Regions from separate parts of the Homo sapiens genome. Here regions 2, 3 and 4 are each linked to region 1. Evidence: promoter capture Hi-C in 16 types of primary human blood cells and fetal thymus (Javierre and others, 2016). All regions are on one chromosome and are shown on one strand. The core of a region is centred on a gene start or on the middle of the fragment in contact, and the rest is flanking DNA. Distances in the headings are between cores, read along the strand shown. Region 1 holds the start of STX1A (syntaxin 1A). Region 2 overlaps BCL7B (BAF chromatin remodeling complex subunit BCL7B). Region 3 overlaps BAZ1B (bromodomain adjacent to zinc finger domain 1B). Region 4 overlaps BAZ1B (bromodomain adjacent to zinc finger domain 1B).

Evidence for each region. Contacts are between HindIII fragments. The CHiCAGO score rates a contact against its expected background, and 5 or more counts as called.
Region 2: a contact is called between a fragment that was not itself captured here and the fragment with the promoter of STX1A in region 1, in 1 of 17 cell types (total CD4 T cells). The highest score is 6.0, in total CD4 T cells.
Region 3: a fragment that was not itself captured here is called in contact with the fragment with the promoter of STX1A in region 1 in 4 of 17 cell types (M2 macrophages, M0 macrophages, erythroblasts and 1 more); the score reaches 8.2 in M2 macrophages.
Region 4: a contact is called between a fragment that was not itself captured here and the fragment with the promoter of STX1A in region 1, in 1 of 17 cell types (erythroblasts). The highest score is 5.9, in erythroblasts.

The regions. Positions count from the first base shown.
Region 1 is chr7:73,718,189-73,723,265 of GRCh38, reverse strand. It overlaps STX1A (syntaxin 1A), which reads left to right and starts at 3,597. Exons shown (of 10, transcript NM_004603.4): 1 at 3,597-3,664. The coding sequence starts at 3,635. RefSeq lists silencers at 3,482-3,681, 3,742-3,941, 3,952-4,011, 4,122-4,201. The HindIII fragment of the contact is 14,118 bases long and covers 1-5,077 here.
Region 2 is chr7:73,540,534-73,545,882 of GRCh38, reverse strand. BCL7B (BAF chromatin remodeling complex subunit BCL7B) reads left to right here. Exons shown (of 6, transcript NM_001707.4): 3 at 2,239-2,335. Among named protein-coding and RNA genes, the nearest start is that of BCL7B, 14 kb to the left of the region's middle. The HindIII fragment of the contact is 204 bases long and covers 2,932-3,135 here.
Region 3 is chr7:73,466,599-73,471,860 of GRCh38, reverse strand. BAZ1B (bromodomain adjacent to zinc finger domain 1B) reads left to right here. Exons shown (of 20, transcript NM_032408.4): 8 at 1,378-1,516; 9 at 2,211-2,344. Among named protein-coding and RNA genes, the nearest start is that of FZD9, 35 kb to the right of the region's middle. The HindIII fragment of the contact is 171 bases long and covers 3,643-3,813 here.
Region 4 is chr7:73,483,639-73,489,366 of GRCh38, reverse strand. BAZ1B (bromodomain adjacent to zinc finger domain 1B) reads left to right here. Exons shown (of 20, transcript NM_032408.4): 6 at 1-173. Among named protein-coding and RNA genes, the nearest start is that of BAZ1B, 36 kb to the left of the region's middle. The HindIII fragment of the contact is 1,059 bases long and covers 1,108-2,166 here.

The sequences.
Region 1 (5,077 bases), core at 2,348-4,847:
GCCAAGGTGGAGAAACTCCATCTCTACTAAAAATACAAAAAATTAGCCAGGTGTGGTGGCACATGCCTGTAATCTCAGCTATCTGGGAGGCTGAGGCAGGAGAATTGCTTGAACCCGGGAGGCGGAAGTTGCAGTGAGCCAAGATTGTGCCATTTTACTCCAGCCTGGATGACAAGAGTGAAACTCGGTCTCTAAATAAATAAAGGAATGATAATCTGGCCCTCGATGGGCTTCCCTTTTCTGCACAATAGTTTAGCATCCAAGGCCTCCCCCTTCCTTGGGCTCATCCCCCACCTATGTCCACCCAAGTGCCACAGCAGGCTCCTGAGGTGCTCCCGGTAGAGTGCTCCATTTTAGAGAGCTCCCCACCCCCACCCCTGCCCCAGCATCCTTCCTTTGTCCACTCCCTGCTGCAATCCCACTGCAACACCCTGTTCGAATGTCACCACCTCTGGGAAGCCACCCTGGTTCCCTCACCTACCAAAACCATGTCTGTCTCCCCCACTGCAGTGGGAACATCTTGAGTGCAGAACAGTGGCCCCAGAGCATGGTTTCCCATTTAATGTTTGATGAATGAATGAATGATTAAATGAGGAAAAGACTTAGCAGAAAAACAGAGTTTAAAGAGAAGGGCAAGCCCGGGTGCAGTGCCTCACACCTGTAATCCCAGCACTTTGGGAGGCCAAGGCGGGTAGATCATTTGAGGTCAGGAGTTCAAGACCAGCCTGGCCAACATGGTGACGCCCCATCTCTACTACAAATACAAAAATTAGCTGGGCGTGGTGGCGGGTGCCTGTAATCCCAGCTGCTCAAGAAGCTGAGGCAGGAAAATCACTTGAACATGGGAGGTGGAGGTTGTAGTGAGCCTGGATTGCACCACTGCACTGCAGCCTGGGTGACAGAAAGAGACTCAGCCTTAAAAAAACAAACAAACAAAAAAAAGAAGTGAAAGGCACACTTTTTTTTTTTTTTTAAGAGATGGAGTCCAGGCTGGTCTTAAACTCCTGGCCTCAAGCAATCCTCCCTCCTGGGCCTCCCAAAGTGCTGGATTACAGGCATGAGCCACTGTGCCTGGCCACATTTATTTCTTTATTCATTTTTCATGCTACTATTTAATATGCGTCTCAATGAGTGATGCTTGGTGTGACACCAGGGCTCTCAGAGGGCAGGAGCTGAGCCTCCCTTTCCTGCCCTCTCCCTAAGGGGCCAGACACTGGGCTCTGGGGGCATACCTGTGACCCACCCCACTGACTCACCCTGCAGGCTAGACCAGGAGTCAGGCAGACTCCCCTGTCACTTGTCATCTCTGGGCAAGTTCCTCTAGCACTTACCTCCTTACTTTTCCTCTGTGAAGTGGGGCGCCATCAATGCCCATTCTGCAGGGCACCCAAAGTTGAAGCCGGGACAACTGGAACAGGGTGTGGCTGTTCCCTCTGCCAGGCCACATCGGACCGTCTTGGGCCAGATTTTCCAGGGAAGAAGGGAAAGCTGGAACAGTGTCCCTAGCTTGCCTGGCAGCCAGCTAACCTGTGCCCATAGTCTGGGAGAGGTGCCAGGCCCAGACACACTGGGCAGCAGGGGGCTGGATTGGCTCCAGAGCTCCAATGCTTTGGCAGTCCTGGGGAAGGGAAGGGATGTGCTTGGCTTCAGGTCAAGAGGGTGTGGGCCACAGAAGTGACAGCTGGGGGTGGTGGAGGGCACAGCGGGCTTATGGGGGTGTGTGCGAGACCACTGTTGCAACAAGATGCTGGCAGGGACCTTCAAAAGAACATCTGCTGTTGACTGGCCTCCCCACTCCCACTCCTCCACAGGTTTTCCCATGAGTCCTAGAGGAAGCCAGGCCCCAGGCTTCTAGATAGAAAATAGAACCTACATTGGCCAAGTGTAATCCCAGTGCTTTGGAAGCCCAAGCCAGGAGGATCGCTTGAGGCTAGGACTTTGAGACCAGCCTGGGCAACATGAGGAGACCCCGTCTTTACAAAAACGAAAAAAGAGAAAATAGAACCTCAGGCCTAGAGCCAGAGTTCAGGATTGGGGATGCAGGGAAAGGAGGAGAGGGGGGCCATAACTCAAATCTCTTTCCCAAAGATAGAGTAGTTCCTGGCTGGGTGCAGTGGCTCACACCTGTAATCCCAGCACTTTGGGAGGCTGAGGCAGGCAGATCACTTGAGGTCAGGAGTTCGAAACCAGCCTGGACAACATGGTGAAACCCCTTCTCTACTAAAAATACAAAAAAATTAGCCAGGCGTGGTTGTGGGTGCCTGTAATCTCAAGCTACTTGGGAGGCTGAGGCAGGAGAATTGCTTGAACTCGGGAGGTGGAGGTTGCAGTGAGCCAAGATCGTGCTACTGCACTCCAGACTGGGCAACAGAGTGAGACTCCGTCTCAAAAAAAAAAAAAAAAAATAGGCCGGGCACGGTGGCTCACGCCTATAAGCCCAGCACTTTGGGAGGCCGAGGCGGGAGAATCAAGAGGTCAAGAGTTTGAGACCAGCCTGCTCAACATGGTGAAACCCTGTCTCTACTAAAAAATACAAAAAATTAGCCGGGCGTGGTGGTGGGCACCTGTAATCCCAGCTACTTGGGAGGATGAGGCAGGAGACTCGCTTGAACCCAGGAGGCAGAGCTGAGATAGCGCCACTGCACTCCAGCCTGGGCGACAAGAGTGAAACTCCATCTCATAAATAAATAATCAAACAAACAAACAAACATAAAAAGATAGAGGAGTTCCTTCATCCTGCAGGAAAAAGGGGTGGGTCACGCAGCATCAGAGCTGTGAACTGAGAAATCCTAGGGAAAGAAGAGGCCAGTGCCTGAGTCCCTACTGGATGATGGGAGCAAGGGGGAAGGGTGGAGGCTCCCAGACTGGAACTCTCCAGGAGGTTTTTGGCTGGGGAACAGAAGGGAGAGCAGGAGGTCCCAAGGTAATGAAATGAAGGAGGGAGTTACAACCTTCAGCAAATTCTGGGGAAGTGAAGGGATCTGAGGATGAGGACCGGATTCTGGGACAGGGATGCTGAGCTGCTAAGTCGGGAAGAGGCTGGAAGCCAGGCACGGTGGCTCACGCCTGTAATCGCAGAGCTTTGGGAGGAGGGAGGATCGCTTGAGGACAGGAGTTCAAGACCAGCCTGAGTAACATAGCAAGACCCTGTCTCTACAAAATATTTGAAAATTATTCAGGAGTAGTGGCGAGCAACTCTAGTCCCAGCCACCCAGGAGACTGAGGCGGGAGGATTGCCTGAGCTCAGGAGCTCAAGGCTGCAGTGAGCTATGATTGCACCACAGCACTCCAGCCTGGGCGACAGAGCGAGACCCTGTCTCCAAAAATAATAAATAAAAAACGAGACAGGGCTGGGGCAGAGGAGGCAGCAGGGTCTCTGGGGACCCATCCCCGGGAGCGATCACGCGTGCGGAACGTCCAGGACGAGACCCCAGGGCTTCGATCCCCACGGGGCTGCTCGTGCGGGGTGGGGCGGGGTCTGGGCGGGGTCTGGGCGGGGCCCGGGCGGGGTGGGGCGGGGCCGGGGTCCCGGGGGCCGGGGCGGGGCCGGGCTGGCGCTGCGCAGCCGCGGGGCGGCCGTCGCGCATGCGGGGCTCACACGGCTGCAGCCGGCGCCGCTGCCACTCCCGGGAGCATGAAGGACCGAACCCAGGAGCTCCGCACGGTGAGTCCGGCCCCAGCGCGCGGCCGCCCGCCGCCCGCCGCCAGCGCCAACGCGCCGGACACTTCCCGCCCGGCTCCCGCGGCCAGGATGGTGGCCGCTCCTGCGCCCCCAGCCAGGGCTGAAGGGAGCGGGGCGAGCCAGGGACCTCGACCCCCCTCCGGGTTCCGCCCCTCGGACCCACTCGGGGTCAGGCTCGCGTGAGCTCGGCCGCGCTGACACGTGGACGGTCGGCTGGAGTCCGGGGTCCTGGATAAACTTTTCGGGGCCCTCTTGATTTGGGGGGTTCGGAGGGTATGATGGGGTTTTGGTGGCGGGACCTCTTCCCCCTCCCGCAGAGCAGGCCCTTTCTCTGGCCCCCTCACTGCCCCTCATCTCTGACCTCCCGTGCCCCCTCGGTGTAGACAGACGAGGGGACCGCGGTGGGAACCTCCTTGGTGTAGACAGACGAGGGGACCGCGGTGGGCCGGTGCCGGTCCCCTGCGCGGGGCCCCGCTGCGGGGCGCGCTGCGGAAACCTGATCGTCGGGTGGTGGCGGCCTCCTCGGGCCACCCTGGTCACCTGTGGCTCCCATCACCTGTGGCTCCCCCTCTGCTTGGTCGCAGTAGGGATCCACTGCCCGCCCCAGGTATGGGGGGGGGGGCGTCACACCCGCCCCCGGTCCACCTATCCACCTTCGGGCTTTCGGGCAGCACTGGCTGGCGTTTCCAGACCCTTCAGGGTTCCTTGCGACTTGGATCTATTTTTCTACCTGTATCTGGGAAACCCCTGGGGTGTGGCTCCTGGGGCGGGGTTTGGGGGGAGTAGGAGGATGCACAAACGTTCTGAGTCAGAGCCCACCTTCTCCCAGCCCAGAGACCCCTGCAGCCTGCGTGGGTCCCCTTCCCCTGGCCTCTGCCCTTAGGGATGAGGAGCCCAGGAGGATGGTGACCGGGAGTGGAGGACAGCGACGGAAATGAAGCCTCTCTGGGTGTGTCGGGGAGGGGGGGTGGATCAAGGCTCAAGACTAGATTGAGTCTCATCTGGTCATCTGGTCCCCTGGCTGGCCACCTGGCTGGCAGCCCTGCCTGCTGATCCCTGGGAGCACCCCCCACCCCGCTCCCTGGGCTAGGAACTAGAACCCTAAGGTCCCCTCCTATGGAAAATGTCAAGTGTCCTTTGGGCATTTGACCCCACGGCTTGTCTTCTCCACCCAGAGGCTCCCTGAGTTGGAGCCTGTCTGCCCCATTATGTCATGGTTGCCTCCTGGGCATCCTGGAGCCGGGACCTGGGCTCCCCTGCCTTCATGTCCCCCACTTGCTCTGGCACCACGGCCTCCACTTTGCCTCCAGACCTGTTATTCCTGGCCGAGCGCCCAGCCCCTGGTGTAAACCCCATGAGGTTTCAAAGGAAGAAGATGGTCCCTCAAGTCGCATA
Region 2 (5,349 bases), core at 1,784-4,283, 180 kb after region 1:
TGGGATTACAGGCGTGAGCCACCGCGCCCGGCCAGTTTTCCTTTCTGTAAATGAATTTAGGAGGTTGAGGTTAGCCTCAGGGTTCAGCCTCTCCCTTTTGCTCTCTGCTGTCCTCTCTGGCTCCAGGGAACCTCCTAGCACCAACTGTATGGACTCTGCCTTTATCTGAGAGCAGCCATCCCAAGAAGTTCTAGGATGCCAAACTCATGGAGTTGATGGGGCGTGGTTCTGGAGCAACTGTTTATTCCCCCATCCAGCCTGGCTCTGGCCATTACCCACAGGGGTCAAAGGTCAAGCAGTTAAATCTCTTGGGCATTGTGTATAGACAGGAGTAGATGCTGCTAGAAAACCCCCTTTCCTTGGCCGAGTGCGATGGCTCACGCCTGTAATCCCAGCACTTTGGGAGGCTGAGGCGGGCGGATTGAGACCATCCTGGAGCCAGGAGATCGAGACCATCCTGGCTAACATGGTGAAACCCCATCTCTACTAAAAAATACAAAAAATTAGCTGGGCATGGTAGTGGGCGCCTGTAGTCCCAGCTACTCGGGAGGCTGAGGCAAGAGAATGGCGTGAACCTGGGAGGTGGAGCTTGCAGTGAGCCGAGATTGTGCCATGGCACTCCAGCCTGGGTGACAGAGCAAGACTCTGTCTCAAAAAACAAACAAAAAATTGAGTTATTAACAAAAATTACGTTACTAATATAATGCATCTACCGGAAATGTATAAAAAGTGTGAACTGGTAAATTTGAGGCTACTCAGATTTAAACTTTTGGCTTTTGGGATGCTCTCATTTTCATATGCTTGGATTTACTCTGGGCTTTTTTTTTTTTGAGTTAGGGTCTAACTGTGTTGCCCAGGTTGGAGTGCACAGTCATAGCTCACTGCAGCCTCAAACTTTCAGGCTCAAGCGATCCTCCCACCTCAGCCTTCTCAGTAGCTGGGACCACCAGCCTATGCCACCATACATGGCTCATTTTTTATTTTTTTGTAGAGATGGGGTCTTACTATGTTGCCCAGGCTGGTCTCAAACTCCTGGGCTCAAGGGATCCTCCCACCTCCGCCTCCTCAAGTGCTGGGATTACAGGCATGAGCCACTGTGCCTGGCCCTTGGGCTTTCTTGTTGCAAGCTGGTGCTTACCTGCCCACTGTGGTTGCCCTGCACTTATAACCTACATCTTTCTTGAAACAAATGTTATAGGTAAAAATAAACATGGGGTGATCATTTTGTTTTTTGGGTTTTTTTGTTTGTTTCTTTTTGAGATGGAGTTTCGCTCTTTCGCCCAGGCTGTTATGAAGTGGCAGAATCTTGGCTCACTGCAACTTCCACCCCCCAGGTTCAAGCGATTCTCCTGTCTCAGCCTCCAGAGTAGCTGGGATTACAGGCACATGCCACCATGCCAGGCTCATTTTTGTATTTTTATTTATTTATTTATTTATTTATTTTATTTTTTGTTTTATTTTATGTTTTTTTAGATGGAGTCTCGCACTGTAGCCCAGGCTGGAGTGCAGTAGTGCCATCTTGGTTCACTGCAACCTCCACCTCAAGCAATTCTCCTGCCTCAGCCTCCCAAGTAGCTGGGATTACAGGCACATGCCACCACACTCGGCTGATTTTTGTATTTTTAGTAGAGATAGGGTTTCACAATGTTGGCCAGGCTGATCTTGAACTCCTGACCTCAGGTGATCCATGCGTCTTGGCCTCCCAAAGTGCTGGGATTACAGGCGTGAACCAGTGCGCCCGGCTGGGGTGGTCGTTTTGAATGGATGAGGATGACGGATCAGGAATAGAGCCAGCCTGGGCCCATTTGTCCTGTCACTGTCTGTGTTACATGAGGTTCCTTCTTCTCTCACTTTTTCCCCACTCTGCTACTGAAACAGGAATCTTTCTCAAATGAGTGTTTTGTATTTCTTGCCCATTCGTATAGAGAAGGGTTGCCTGGCGCAATTTGATCAGGGCAGGAGAGGGATACTATGGGATGTTCTAGTCGAAGTGTATGTATCTGCCTGTTGCTTATGATTCACAGTATTCCTGCTGGAAGGGTTCATTTTTCTGAGGCTTGAGGAGAAGTTGCTTGTCCAGGATTCTGTTCTTCCTTGGGTCCTTGGATTCTCACGCTGCTGTCGTTTTTCCTGTTCAGTCCTAATCCAGACCTCTGTGGTCTGTCACATAGCACCCTCCTCCCTCTCTGTGAGTCTCCTGCTTGGCTCTGTCATATTCCTCTTTTTTTCCTTTTCTAGAAAGAAAAGTCAAAATCGAACAGTTCAGCAGCCCGAGAACCTAATGGCTTTCCTTCTGATGCCTCAGCCAATTCCTCTCTCCTTCTTGAATTCCAGGGTGAGTTGCATCTCTGTGTCTTCCTTGCAGGAGAATGAAAACTTGGATGAATGCATTAATAAGAAGAATTGGCCAGGTGCAGTGACTCACACCTGTAACCTCAGCACTTTGGGAGTCTGAGGCGGGCAGATCACCTGAGGTCAGGAGTTCAAGACGAGCCTGGCCAATATGGTGAAACCCAGTCTCTACTAAAAATACAAAAAGTTAGCTGAGCGTGGTGGCGCGTGCCTGTAATCCCAGCTACTCGGGGGTCTGAGACAGGAGAATCGCTTAAACCCAGGAGGTGGAGGTTGCGGTGAGCCGAGATTGCGCCACTGCACTCCAGCCTGGGCTGCAGAGTGAGACTCCGTCTCAAAAAAAAAAAAAAAGAATTCTGTGTATCAATTCAGTGCCTGCTGTTTCGCTGGTATTTTGCGAGGCACTTGACCTAAATCTTTTCATTTAAACTTCACGATAACTCTGCAAGATAGGTAATGGTATTCTCATTTTCCAGTTAAGGAAACTGAGGCTCAGAGAGGTTAAGTTACGTGTCTAAAGTTACATAACTTGTAAGTGACAGACTCCATGTCAGGTCCTGGTTGTCCGAATCAGAAGCTTTTTTTTAGATTGTACTTCATTTTTTATTTTTTATTTTTTGTAGAGACAGAGTCTGGCTATGTTGTCCAGGCTGGTTGTGAACTCCTGGCCTCAAGCAGTCCCCCAGCCTTGACCTCCCAAGGTACAAGCATGAGCCACTGCACCTGGCCTAGACTGTATGTTTTATCATAGTCGCTTAGAGTAGGCTACCCAAAGCCGAAGCTTCTGCTTACCCACTGTTAGGACATGTTCTGCCTCCTAAACCAATCCCGCCGGATCATCACCGTAGTCATGATACTGCCTTTTACACCTACCTGCTAGGTACTGTCTACGAAGCACTTTTACTTTACTTTCTCATTTTTACCCATGTATCAGCCTGTGATATAAACCAGGCAGTTATTATCATCCCTATTTAAGGAAACTGATGCTCAGGGAGGAACAGTGTTTTGTCTAAGCTCAAAAGTGACAGTTTTATTCATTTGGTGACAAAATGCTACTTCCATTTTAGTGTGGGTATTAAAGGTCTTTATAGGAGTCAAGACTAGCATGAGTTTATGACTTTCTCTTCAAAACCAGATTGGAGCTAACCCAGCGTGTAGTTATTCCTTCCCCACCTCTTTCCCAGGCCCCACCAAGGTCAACCATGTGCTGTTGGAAAGGGAACACCAACGTGTGTTCAGTAGTCAGAAGGCTCTGGGAGACATATGAGGCTCCATTTCCTCAGTCTGGCCACCATCTCCTCCTTTTCATTTAGTAAACACTTAATGAACTCCCACTGTATGCAGGTACCGTGCGTTGCACTGGGGAGTCAAGGACAAGTGAGCCACAGAGCCTGTCCACAGAGGCTCATGGGAGGAAGCACGTGTGCGAAATGATAAATGCAGGCGTGCACAGGCTATCACAGGAGAGTAAGAGAGGGTGGGCATTTCCACCTATGCGAGCCAGGGAGGTAGGGCTCCGCGGAAGAAGTGATGTCGGGGCTGTGTTGGGAGGTCTGAGGCTTTCCAGGACAAGAGAAGGCAGCCTAGCCAAGGAACAGCTGGGCAGAAGCACCCATGCATGACGAAGCTCTTGGGTTAGGGTCCAGTCTGCCTGGAGCTGAGGATGCTTGTAGGAGAACAGTAGGCACTGAGGCCAGAGATCAGAAAGGACTTCCTATGTTGCGATAAGGCCAGCTCCTGCCTCTCCTAAGAAGTACTGGGTATGGCTGGGCGTGGTGGCTCATGCCTGTAATCCCAGCACTTTGGGAGGCTGAGGCAGGTGGATTACCTGAGGTCAGGAGTTCGAGACCAGCCTGACCAACATGGTGAAACCCCGTCTCTAATAAAAATACAAAATTACCCAGGCGTGGTGGCGCAAGCCTGTAATCCCAGCTACTCAAGAGGCTGAGGCAGGAGAATCAGTTGAACCCAGGAGGCAGAGGTTGTGGTGAGCTGAGATAGCACCATTGCACTCCAGCCTGGGCAACAAGAGCGAAACTCGGTCTCAAAAAAAAAAAAAAAAAAAGTACTGGGTATGACATTTCTCCCTTAGGCAGCAGTGGAGCGTCGAAGGGTTTAGAAAGGTCTCTCTGGCAGTGGTTTGCAGTTCAGTTTAAGGTACGTGAGACTGGAGGCAGGGCAGTGAGGTATGTGGCTGTTGCAGGAGGCCAGGCTGGAGATGATGAGGCTTGAACTGAAGCAGTAGGAGAGGAAGGAATGAGCACAAATGATACCAGAGCAGGAGGGGGAAACACTTTGGTGACTGGCTACTGTAGGTGCAGCGGAGGAATGCATTGGTGACTCTTACTTTTTTTCTTTTTTTTTAATTTTAATTTTTATTTTTTGAGACGGAGTCTCGCCATGTCACCCAGGCTACAGTGCAATGGCACGATCTCAGCTCACTGCAACCTCCACCTCCCGGGTTCAAGCGATTTTCCTGCCTCAGCCTCCCAAGTAACTGGGATTACAGGCGCGTGCTATCATGCCCGGCTAATTTTTGTATTTTCAGTAGAGACGGGGTTTCACCATGTTGGCCAGGCTGGTCTCAAACTTCTGACCTCAAGTGATCCGCCCACCTTGGCCTCCCAAAGTGCTGGGATTACAGGCGTGAGCCACTGCACTCGGCCTGGTAACTCTTTTTTTTTTTTTTTTTTTTTTTTTTGAGACAGAGTCTCGCTCTGTTGCTCAGGCTGGAGTGCAATGGCGCGATCTCGGCTCACTGCAAGCTCTGCCTTCTAGGTTCATGCCATTCTTCTGCCTCAGCCTCCTGAGTAGCTGGAACTACAGGTGCCCACCACCACAGCCGGCTAATTTTTTGTAATTTTAGTAGAGACGGGGTTTCACCGTGTTAGCCAGGATGGTCTCGATGTCCTGACCTTGTGATCTGCCCACCTCGGCCTCCCAAAGTGCTGGGATTACAGGCGTGAGCCACCGTGCCTGGCCTCGGCCTGGTAACTC
Region 3 (5,262 bases), core at 2,479-4,978, 250 kb after region 1:
TTGTGCTATTTTCTACTATAACCATTGTTACAAATACACAGTTTCACTTGGGCTAGAAAACTGTTTATCAAAGGTAACAAATTCCATGTTTTAAATAAATGGAATTTATCTTAAGTTTTTAAAGTAACATCTTTAGACAGATGCATTTTCCAGATTTACATCTTATTGTAGATGTTATTGTCAATAGACAATCAGGGTTAAAAATTATTGGGGCTGAGTGCAGTGGCTCACATCTCTAATCCCAGCATTTTGAGAGGCCGAGGCAGGAGGATCGCTTGAGCCCAGAAGTTTGAGACCAGCTTGGGCAAACATAGTAAGACCCTATCTCTAAAAAAATAATAAACACTTCTTAAAAATTGTGACATTGTAAATAGCATTGCCATGTACCCTATGGTGTCAAGGTTTGTGACAATTATGGAAAAACTTAACAAAATTAGCGGGCTGCTTTTGTTGAGGGAAATTTCTAACTGAATAAACCTAATTAATGAATGATCAGAAATAAAATTTTTATCATTAACAGTAACTTGCAGAATAATTAGAAAAATAGGTGTTCAATGTAAAATAATTATTATCCACAAGTGCGTCCCTGCTGTTGCTTTTCAGGTTTGTTTTCTTGTCATCAGGGCTATTAAGCCAAATTACTGTCAGATTCCTCAGGACTGAAATATGTTTTATTTTGAAATAGTTATTTTACTAGTTTGATTTATCGTGATCTTTTTGAGGATCCTGTAGGTGCACCTGTCAGAAGATGTTTCAGTTAGTCCTATTTATGGACTGTTAACTGTTTCTTCAGGATTGTTTAAAATATATTAAGAAGTGATATTTTGGCTGGGTGTGGTGGCTCACGCCTATAATCCCAGCACTTTGAGGGGCCGAGACGGGTGGATCAGTTGAGGTCAGGAGTTCGAGACCAGCCTGGACAACATGGGGAAACCCCGTCTCTACTAAAAATGTAAAAATTAGCTGGACACGGTGGTGTGTGCCTGTAGTCCAGCGACACAGGAGGCTGAGGCGGGAGAATTGCTTGAACCCAGGAGGCAGAGGTTGCAGTGAGCCGAGATCGCACCACTGCACTCCACCCTGGGTGACAGAGCAAGACTCTGCCTCAAAACAAAAACAAAAAGAAGTGATATTTTGGAGATAAAAGATTTTGCATTGAGTTGAGGGATGAGATGTCACCACAAATTCAAGGAGTGTAGGAGGACTAGATGTTGCTGCCTTACATGTAATTTCTTGTAACAGATTAGAATTAGAGAAAGCAAACTAAGATTTGATAACTACTGTATACTAGGCACTTTTTACTCCATATTTTATTTAATTTGTAAGAGTGGGATTTACTAGGAAAATATCTGATTTGAGTCTTTTTATTTTTAACAGTGAAACTGGAACGCCAAGCTGAAGAAGAACGAATACGGAAGCACAAAGCAGCTGCTGAGAAAGCTTTCCAGGAAGGGATTGCCAAGGCCAAACTAGTCATGCGCAGGACTCCTATTGGCACAGATCGAAACCATAATAGGTCAGTTCCTAAACCAAATTTTTGTTTTCTTTAGGACTATTTACATTGCTATTAGTTAGGAAAATTTTCTAAAGTACAAGAATAGACAAGCTTCTCTCTTCAGTTTTCCAATTCTTTTTGGAAACAGAATTGTTGATGATTATTGAATATTAACTGCCAAATGCTAGAGTTGCAAAGTTAAGTAAGACATATTCCTGCCCTTGCATATACCACAAGTAGGAAGCTTACATGATGGTGATAGGTGAAATGTAATCCAAGTCTTTAAAAATGGCAGTAGGTTTTAAATACATACATTTTGTGAAACCTAAAGGAGAAATATTAGTAGTTACACAAATTAGGGCTGGGCGTGGTGGTTCACACCTGTAATCCTACACTTTGGGAGGCTGAGTCGAGAGGATTGCTTGAGGCCAGGAGTTCAAGACCAGCCCGGCCAACATAGCGAGACCCCATTTCAATTTAAAAAAGAAAGAAATTATACAAATTACGAACATTAAGCTAGTCTCCAGTTTCAACATTTCTCGTATACTTTGATTTACCTTGCAATTTTTATCTGTCTAGAGTTCTGAAGAGGAAGAATTCTGTAAACTGTGGTTTTGAATGCTCAGTGATACTCTGTATTATCTTCTCCAGCAGTAAAATCATCCTGCAATCCTGATCTATTCACTGTCTTATTAATACTGGTTGTGATTTGTAGATACTGGCTCTTCTCAGATGAAGTTCCAGGATTATTCATTGAAAAAGGCTGGGTACATGACAGCATTGACTACCGATTCAACCATCACTGCAAAGACCACACAGTCTCTGGTGATGAGGATTACTGTCCTCGCAGTGAGTATATCTGTATATCTAAGAGTTATTTCACCCTGCTCAAGTGGGCTCAACATTAAGGACTGCTTTTCCTCTGTCACGTTTTCCATTTGCAGAATTTCTTTATTGTGGTCTTAGATCTATTTGAGTGAAGTAGGTAGATGTGAAATGTGTAGAAAGAAGGAGAGAAACCCACGTTTGATTACCACCTTTGTTCTAAGCATAGTGTGAGAAGATGAAGAGCTTGAATATGAGGATATTTGGGTATTAGCTTTTATAGGAGCAGTTTTCAAACTTTGTCCCTTGGAAGCCTTTGTAGGTGCCTCAAGGGCTGAAATTGAGGTATGGGGTCTAAGAAGGGCAGTGTTAGATGTCCTCTTCTTCTTCTTCTTTTTTTTTTTTTTTTTGAGACGGAATTTCACTCTTGTTGCCCAGGCTGGAGAGCAATGGCGTGATCTCGGCTCACTGCAACCTCCACCTCCTGGGTTCAAACACTTCTCCTACTTCAGTCTCCCGAGTAGCTGGGACTACAGGTGTGTGCCACCACATCTGGCTAATTTTTGTATTTTTTGTAGGGACGGGGTTTCGCCATGTTGGCCAAGCTGGTCTCAAACTCCTGACCTCAGGTGATCTGCCCACCTCGGCCTCCCAAAGTGCTGGGGATTACAAGTGTGAGCCACTGCACCTGACCCTCTTCTTCTACTTTTAAAATTAATTTATTCAGTGTTTATGCTGAATCTCTATTTGTGAAGCAGTTTGTCATACGCTAGGGGTATAGCAGCAAACAAGACAGATAAGGTTCTTAAAATTCTTGTGAGGAGAAACATGGCAAATACCTAACGAAAAATGAGTGACTGAGAGGGGATCATGTAGGGACACTGGTAATATTCTTTCTCTTGATCTGGGTGCCGGGTATATGTGTTCAGTTTGTAAAAGAAACACACACTGAATAGTTTTCTGAATATATATCCATATTCTTTCTTAAAGTGTATGTATTGAGTATATTTCAAGAAAGAAATAAAACAAATTTTAATTAAAAAAATAAGATGGTTAGGTTAGGTCAGGTTTTCTCAACCTCAGTGTTACTGACATTTTGGGCTAGATGAATCTTTTTTTTTTTCCTCCCACCATGACACTGATGAGGAAGATAGTTTTTTGTACTGGGAGCTGTCCTGTGCATTATAGGTTATTCGGGAGCTCCCCTCTACCCACTAGGTGGTAGCAGTGAAAACCAAGTATGTCTCTAAATCCTGCCAGATACATGTGGCAGGCAGCAGTGCTCCCTTTCGAGAACCACTAGGTTAAATGATCCATAAGCTTCTTTCAGCTCTGCTGTCTGTAACCTAATGAAAATTGCTTATGTGTTGGTGTCATGTGGGAGATAAAGAAATAAAAGAAGTTGCTTCCTGAGTACTAGGTTATTGTGCTTCTTCGATAAATCTTTATTTTTTAAAAAGTAATTCATTTTAGAGAAATTCCTAACTCAAGCTTGAAACTCACAAAATTGTTAAATAAGAATAATACTGATTTACAAAAATAAACATTCCTTCAAATAAAACTTCAGATTTAAGGTGTTTGCATGTTGAATTATATCGAGCATAGATTATGTCACTTTATAGAAGAATCTGGTTTCGTTAGACTTCATAAATACTCAGGTGAGGGCAGTTAGGTTTGAGAGCAGTAACTGTGGAGCCTGGATGTTTAGATTTGGAAGAGATTCCAGTGGGATGAAGGAGTGTTACTTTATAATGTGTCCCCGAGACAAGATTGGGGAGCCAGACCCTTCACTTCTAGAGCATCCTGGTGGATGTTGTTTCGTGTTTTCCAGTTCTAGAATGGCAGTTTTTATTTAAAATTACCCAACTGAGGCTGGATGCAGTGGCTGATGCCTATAATCCCAGCACTTTGGGAGGCTGAGGCAGGCGGATCACTTGAGCTCAAGAGTTAAAAGACCAGCCTGGCCAACATGGCGAAACCCCGTCTCTACAAAAAACACAAAAATTAGCCGGGTGTGGTGGCGGGCACCTGTAATCCCAGCTACTTGGCAGGCTGAGGCAAGAGAATTGTTTAAGCCCAGGAGGCAGGGGTTGCAGTGAGCCAAGATTGCGCCACTGCACTGCAGCCTGGGTGACAGAGCAACATTCTGTCTCAAAAAATTAAAAAAAATAAATAAATTACCCAATTGAAAAGACTAAACAAAGTTATGTGTTAGTATTGCAGAGATGTTTCAGGTTAAAGTGGGGAGAATGGGAAAGAGAAGATAAACAATCATAGTATGAGGTAAGGCTTCAAATATTGTGGTGACTGGCCGGGCGTGGTAGCTCACACCTGTAATCCCAGCACTTGGGAGGCCAAGGCGGGCGGATCACCTGAGGTCAGGAGTTGGAGACCAGCCTGGCCAACATGGTGAAACCCCATCTCTACTAAAAATAGAAAAATTAGCCAGGTGTGTTGGTGTGTGCCTGTAATCCCAGCCACTCGGGAGTCTGAGGCAGGGAGAATTGCATGAACCTGGGAGGCAGAGGTTTCAGTGAGCTGAGATTGTACCACTGCACTCCAGCCTGGGCGACAGAGCGAGACTCTATCTCAAAAAACAAAACGAAACAAAACAAAAAACCAAATATTGTGATGATCTAAGATAGGCTTTGATAAATTGGCTCAAGATATATCTATGTTAAAGTCACGTATCAGTATATAGGAACTGATTTACAAAAAAGTTAGTTGTATTATTTGACACTTGAAGCCTCCAAGGATAAGTCTATAGTATTTATATGTTCTCATTACCTCTGCTTCACTACAGATGCCTTTGCTCTTAACATCATGTAAAAGGAGTAAATTCTTTATTTTGCTTTGATATAAAGATATTTAGTCATTCTTCATTCTAAGTTGCAGTACCCCTAAACTTTGGAACTGTGTAACGATTCCACTTCAGAGAGCAA
Region 4 (5,728 bases), core at 388-2,887, 230 kb after region 1:
GCTTGATTCGTACAGAGCGCCCACCAAATAAGGAGATAGTTCGATACTTTATACGGCATAATGCATTACGAGCTGGTACTGGTGAAAATGCACCTTGGGTCGTAGAAGATGAATTGGTGAAGAAATACTCTCTGCCCAGCAAGTTCAGTGACTTTTTACTTGATCCATACAAGGTAAGGTCACTGTTAATTTTTGGACAGCAGGATAAAGCATCATTATTTCTCTGATGGCTCCAGTATATTTATATTTATAGCAGGTTTTGAACTCTAACATCAGATAATGAATTAAAAATTTTTCAGGTATATCTGTTACATACAGGTTGTTATGTGAGGTTGGTAGGGGAGAGGCCACATTTAATATCTTCCCCAGTTCAATTTATTTTTTATTATGCTAGCATAATTTTAAAAGTCTATATACATGTGCTTTTGTGCCTCAGACCCTTTTTGGAATGAGGTATGGTATAAATATAAAAAGTATTTTGTTAACCAGTTACCAAGAATGAAAACTGATTTTGCATGTCGGACAAGATGATCACATACAGTGGCAGCCTTGAAAAGAACCTGGAATGAGGAGCAGTGTGTGTGATAGATTAGTGGAAAACCTAGTATTTTCCTCTTGAAGAGTAAGTTTTTTTTGTTTTTTTTTTTTTTTTGAGTTGGAGTCTCGCTCTGTCACCCAGGCTGGAGTGCAGTAGTGCGATCTCGGCTCACTGCAACCTCCTTCTCCTTCTTCTCAGCCTCCTGAGTAGCTGGGATTACAGGCATGTGCCACCACACCTGGCTAATTTTTCTATTTTTAGTAGAGATGGGGTTTTGCCGTGTTGGCCAGGCTAGTCTTGAGCTCCTGACCTCAAGTGATCCGCCTGCCTCGGCCTCCCAAAGTGCTGGGATTACAGATGTGAGCCACCATGCCTGGCCGAGAAGGAGTAATTTTTAAAATCCTCACTTTTGATTTTCCAAATATTTTTATGAAGTTATATGGTACATATATATATTTCATTTTACAGATGGGGTATCTGAGGCCTAGTCTAATCAGAACCAACAGAAAGTGATGACAAGACTTAAGACACTGGCCTAGGATTTCTGATTTTCTTTTCCATTTCAAGCTTTACCTGTTAAAGTGGTTTTTTAATGTAGGTTTTGAAAGTACTTAATGCTTCTTTCATTGGTAAATGTAACGCAGCATACTGGCTGATAATTTTCATCTTGGTCTCTGGGCCAGCGTAGAACCAGAAAAGGGCTCTTGATCCATTAAAACTAGGTCACATTTCCAGGATTTCTTTTTTTCCCATTTCATTTAATTATGAAAATATAAAGACATCTGAAGTCATAACAACTAAATTTGTTCAATTATCTTAAGTTGATTATGGTGACAAAAGCATATTGAAAAGTAATTTTATTTCTCCAAAACATTAGTAAAGACCTCCAGTCATGGTTTTAGCACTTAGCAGATTTTCTTATTCTAGACCAGCAAGATAAGTGGTGTCTTCTGTTATGCTCTTTAAATTATTATTATTTGCTTAAAAGGAAAAATTTAGAAAGTAATTGGCTTTTTCTAGATCAGGACTAAATTTTCCATGGAACTATAATTTTTTTCTCAGATGTTTGTTTTTGTTTGTTGAGGAGAAATTTTGAGTTCACTGTCATTTTGTTGCCACAGAGTTTGGAACCATGATTCAGCTTTCTGTGGTCTTCACATGAGATTCCTATCTTCGCTATATGAGAACTCCATGAAACCATCTCTAAATGGGTTTTAGACTAATTCTTGGATTACTTGAGTCCTTAATATTTTCCTCTTTTCTAATCTTACAGCTCTGTTTTATGTATTTTAGTTTAGTGATTCAAGTATGTGAATAATGTGAAAGACTCTTTTTATGGGTAAAATATTTTTTGAGTTTCCTAAGACATAAAAGCTGATCCACACTTATTTCTTACTTTAGAGACAGGGTCTTGCTCTGTTACCCAGGCTGGAGTGCAGTGGGACAATCACAGTTCACTGCAGCCTGAAATTTCTGGGCTCAAGTGATCCTCCTCCCTGTGTCTCACTAGTAGCTGGGGACTACAGGCACGTACCACCACGCCCAGCTGATCCACAATTTTTGTAGGAGAGAGAGACTAGAACTCCAGGAACTTAAAACCTGAAAGGCAATTTCTGAAGAAATAAGCTTCTCCCAGAATTTCTAGTGGGGGCTTAACTTACTAATGTTATGAAATTTGGCTATAATTTAGGTTAAGACTAGGAAATGGAAGCTTGCTTAAAGTGCTGGAAGATGGCAGTGATTTTACTCAGAAAACTTAAGACTCATGTAAAATACTGGTCTACAAAGTTAAAGGCATATACTCAGGTTTATTATTTGTTTTCCCTACCTTAAACAATAATTTCTTATTTCCTAATACTATCTGACATGTCACTGATTGTTTTCTGTATATAAGCTGTGTTTTTCCTATTTATAAAATTAGGACTTTGGCTTCTCAGCCAGGGCAAAACATAGTAACACAGATGATAAGTAGAACCTAAAACATTGCTTTGTTTTCTTTCTTTTTCTAGAAGAAATTTAAAATAATCTGTTGAGGATTAAAGTTGATCACATAGGACCCATCCATCCAAAGGCATGGGATGTTTTCTCTCTCTGTATACTCTTTGGTTTTTGTAGAATGTAATGTTCTGTCAGGCTCTGAGTACATTTACTGTAGAGTGAGACCAGGTGTAAAGAGAGTGAGTTCTGAGCAATAGTTTTAGCAGGCCAGGCGCAGTGGCTCACGCCTGTAATCCTAGCACTTTGGGAGGCCGAGTTGGGCGGATCACGAGGTCAGGAGATCGAGACCATCCTGGCTGACATGGTGAAACCCCGTCTCTACTAAAAATACAAAAAATTAGCCGGGCGTGGTGGCGGGCACCTGTAGTCCCAGCTACTCGGGAGGCTGAGGCAGGAGAATGGCATGAACCTGGGAGGCTGAGCTTGTAGTGAGCCGAGATCACGCCACTGCACTCCAGCCTGGGCAACAAAGTGAGACTCTGTCTCAAATAAATAAATAAATAAAATAGTTTTACCAAAGGACCCATAGTGAGGGCTTACGTGGGAGAGAGGAAAATTATGTAAAGATACAGGAATTTTGGATTGTTACCTGAGTACCTAATATGATGATGAGGGTGTGTTTGTGGTTTTCTAAAATCTTTGTAGAATATAAATTACTTGAGAATAAGAACTACCTTGCTTATTTTATATCTTGTAACGTTTAGCATAGTATGTTGCATATAATAGGTAACTGGCTATTCATTTCTTGAAGTTCCATTTGTTGGAGAAAAATGCCACTGACATTTGGGCTTTAGGGGCAGCGTAATTTTTTGTAGGCCCAATGACTTGGAGGAATGATTTACAAGGCAATTGGGTGATAACTGTCATCTAAGATGAAATCTCTAGCTCATTTTCCTCTTGTAATACATTGCAGCCCTATTTTGTTAGTCTCCATCATGTTTGAGCTCTTATTTTAGACTGATAAATCCTAGTAGGGAAGCCTTTGGATTAGAGATGTAAGAAGAAAATAATACTTTAAGGCATTTGGAATCCTGCATGAATTTAGCCTTGTTCTTAACACATTTTAATATTTTATTAAATAATTTTATACAGGAGAATTGACAAAACACTACCAAATTTCTGTGTACTCTTTAATTAGATTTCCTCAGATGTTAACATTTATCATATTTGTTTATCATTCTCTCTCTCTTTTTTTTTTTTTTTTTCTGAGGTAGGCCTTATGCTGTCTCCCAGGTTAGAGAGCAGTGGAATGATCATAGCTCACTGTAACCTGGAACTTCTGGCTCAAGCAGTCCTCCCACCTCATGCTTCTGACTAGCTAGGATTACCGGTGCTCACCACCATGCCCAACTGATTTTTGTGTTTTTTATTTTTTGTAAAGATGGAGTCTCACTCTTGCCCATGCTGGTCTTGAGCTCCTGGTCTCAAGTGATCCTCCTGCCTCAGCCTCCCAAAGTGTTGGGATTACAGGCGTGAGCCACTGCATCTGGCCTAATCTGCTGTCTATATACACACGAATTATTTTTTCCTGAGCCAAGTAATTTTCCAGACAGGATGCCCTTTTACAGAATACTGGAATATGAATTTCTTAAAAACATTGATATTTGCTAGCTCACACCTGTGTAATTCTACACTTTGGGAGGCTGAGGTGGGAGGATCACTTGAGTCCAGGAGTTCAGGACCTTCTTGGGCAACATGGAGAGATTCCATCTCTACAAAACAAAACAAAAAAATCAAGGATATTTTCCAACGTAACTACAGTACAGTTGTCAAAATCAGGAAGTTAACATTGAAATAACTCTATTATCTAATCTATAGTTTTTACTCACATTTTCCCAGTTCTTCAGTAATCTTTTAACCAAAAAAACAATTTTGTTTTGCTTTAATAGGATCCATTGTGCTACCATGTGTCACATGTTCACATTTACTTGTCTCTTTGGTCTCTTCTAATCTGGGACAGTCCCTCAGCTTTTCTTTGTCTTTCAAAACCTTGACGTTTTGAAATAATAGAACCCGGTTATTTTGTAGAATGCTCTTTGATTTTGGTTTATTTCTTCATGATTAGATTCAGGTTATGAATATTTGGACATTAAGAATTGATGTATTCTTAGTGCATCATTTAAGAAGGCAGTGACATAATTTTGTCCATTACTCATAGTATTACATATTTTATTTATTTTTTTATTTTTTGAGACAGGCTCTTGCTCTGCCCAGGCTGGAGGTGCAGCGGTGTGATCATAGCTCACTGCAGTCTTGACCTCTGGGCTTAAGCAATCCGCCTACCTTAGCCTCCTGAGTAGCCGAGACCACAGGTGTGCACCATGAAGCCCAGCTAATTTTTATTTTTAATTTGTTGAAGAGACAGGGTCTCGCCATGTTACCTAGACTGGTCTCAAACTCCTGGGCTCAAGCAATCCTTCCCCGCCTCGACCCCTGAAGTGTTGGGATTACAGGTGTGAGCTATCATGCCTGGCTGATCTATCTATCTATATCTGTCTGTCTGTCTGTCTGTCTGTCTATCTATCTATCTATCTATCTTCCTCCCTCCGTCCCTCCCTTCCTTCCTTTGACAGAGTCTCGCTCTGTCGCCAGGCTGGAGTGCAGTGGTGCAGTCTTTGCTCACTGTAACCTCTGCCTCCTGGGCTCCAGCGATTCTCCTGCCTCAGCCTCCCGAGTAGCTGGGACTACAGGCACCCACCACCATGCCTGGCTAATTTTTCTATTTTTGGTAGACATGGGGTTTCACCATGTTGGCCAGGATGGTCTCAATCCCTGGACCTTGTGATCCACCAGCCTCGGCCTCCCAAAGTGCTGGGATTACAGGCATGAGCCACCACACCCGGCCTGATTTTTCTTTAAAGTCTCGCTCTTAAAGTTTGTTTGTTGTGTATGGCTGGGCGTAGTGGCTCTTGCTTGTAATTTCAGCAGTTTGAGGGGCTGAGGTGGGAGGATTGCTTGAGCCCATGAGTTTGAGACCAGCCTGGGTAACATGGCGAGACCCTGTTTCTACATACACAAAAAATTAACTGGGTGTGGTGGCGTGTGCCTCTAGTCCAAGCTACTTTGGAGATGGAGGCAGGGTGATCCCTTGAGCCCAGGAGGTCAAGGTTGCAGTGAGCTGTGATCATGCCACTGCACTCCAGCCTGTGTGACAGACAGAGTGAGACCCTGTTTTGGGTGGAGGAAAAAAAA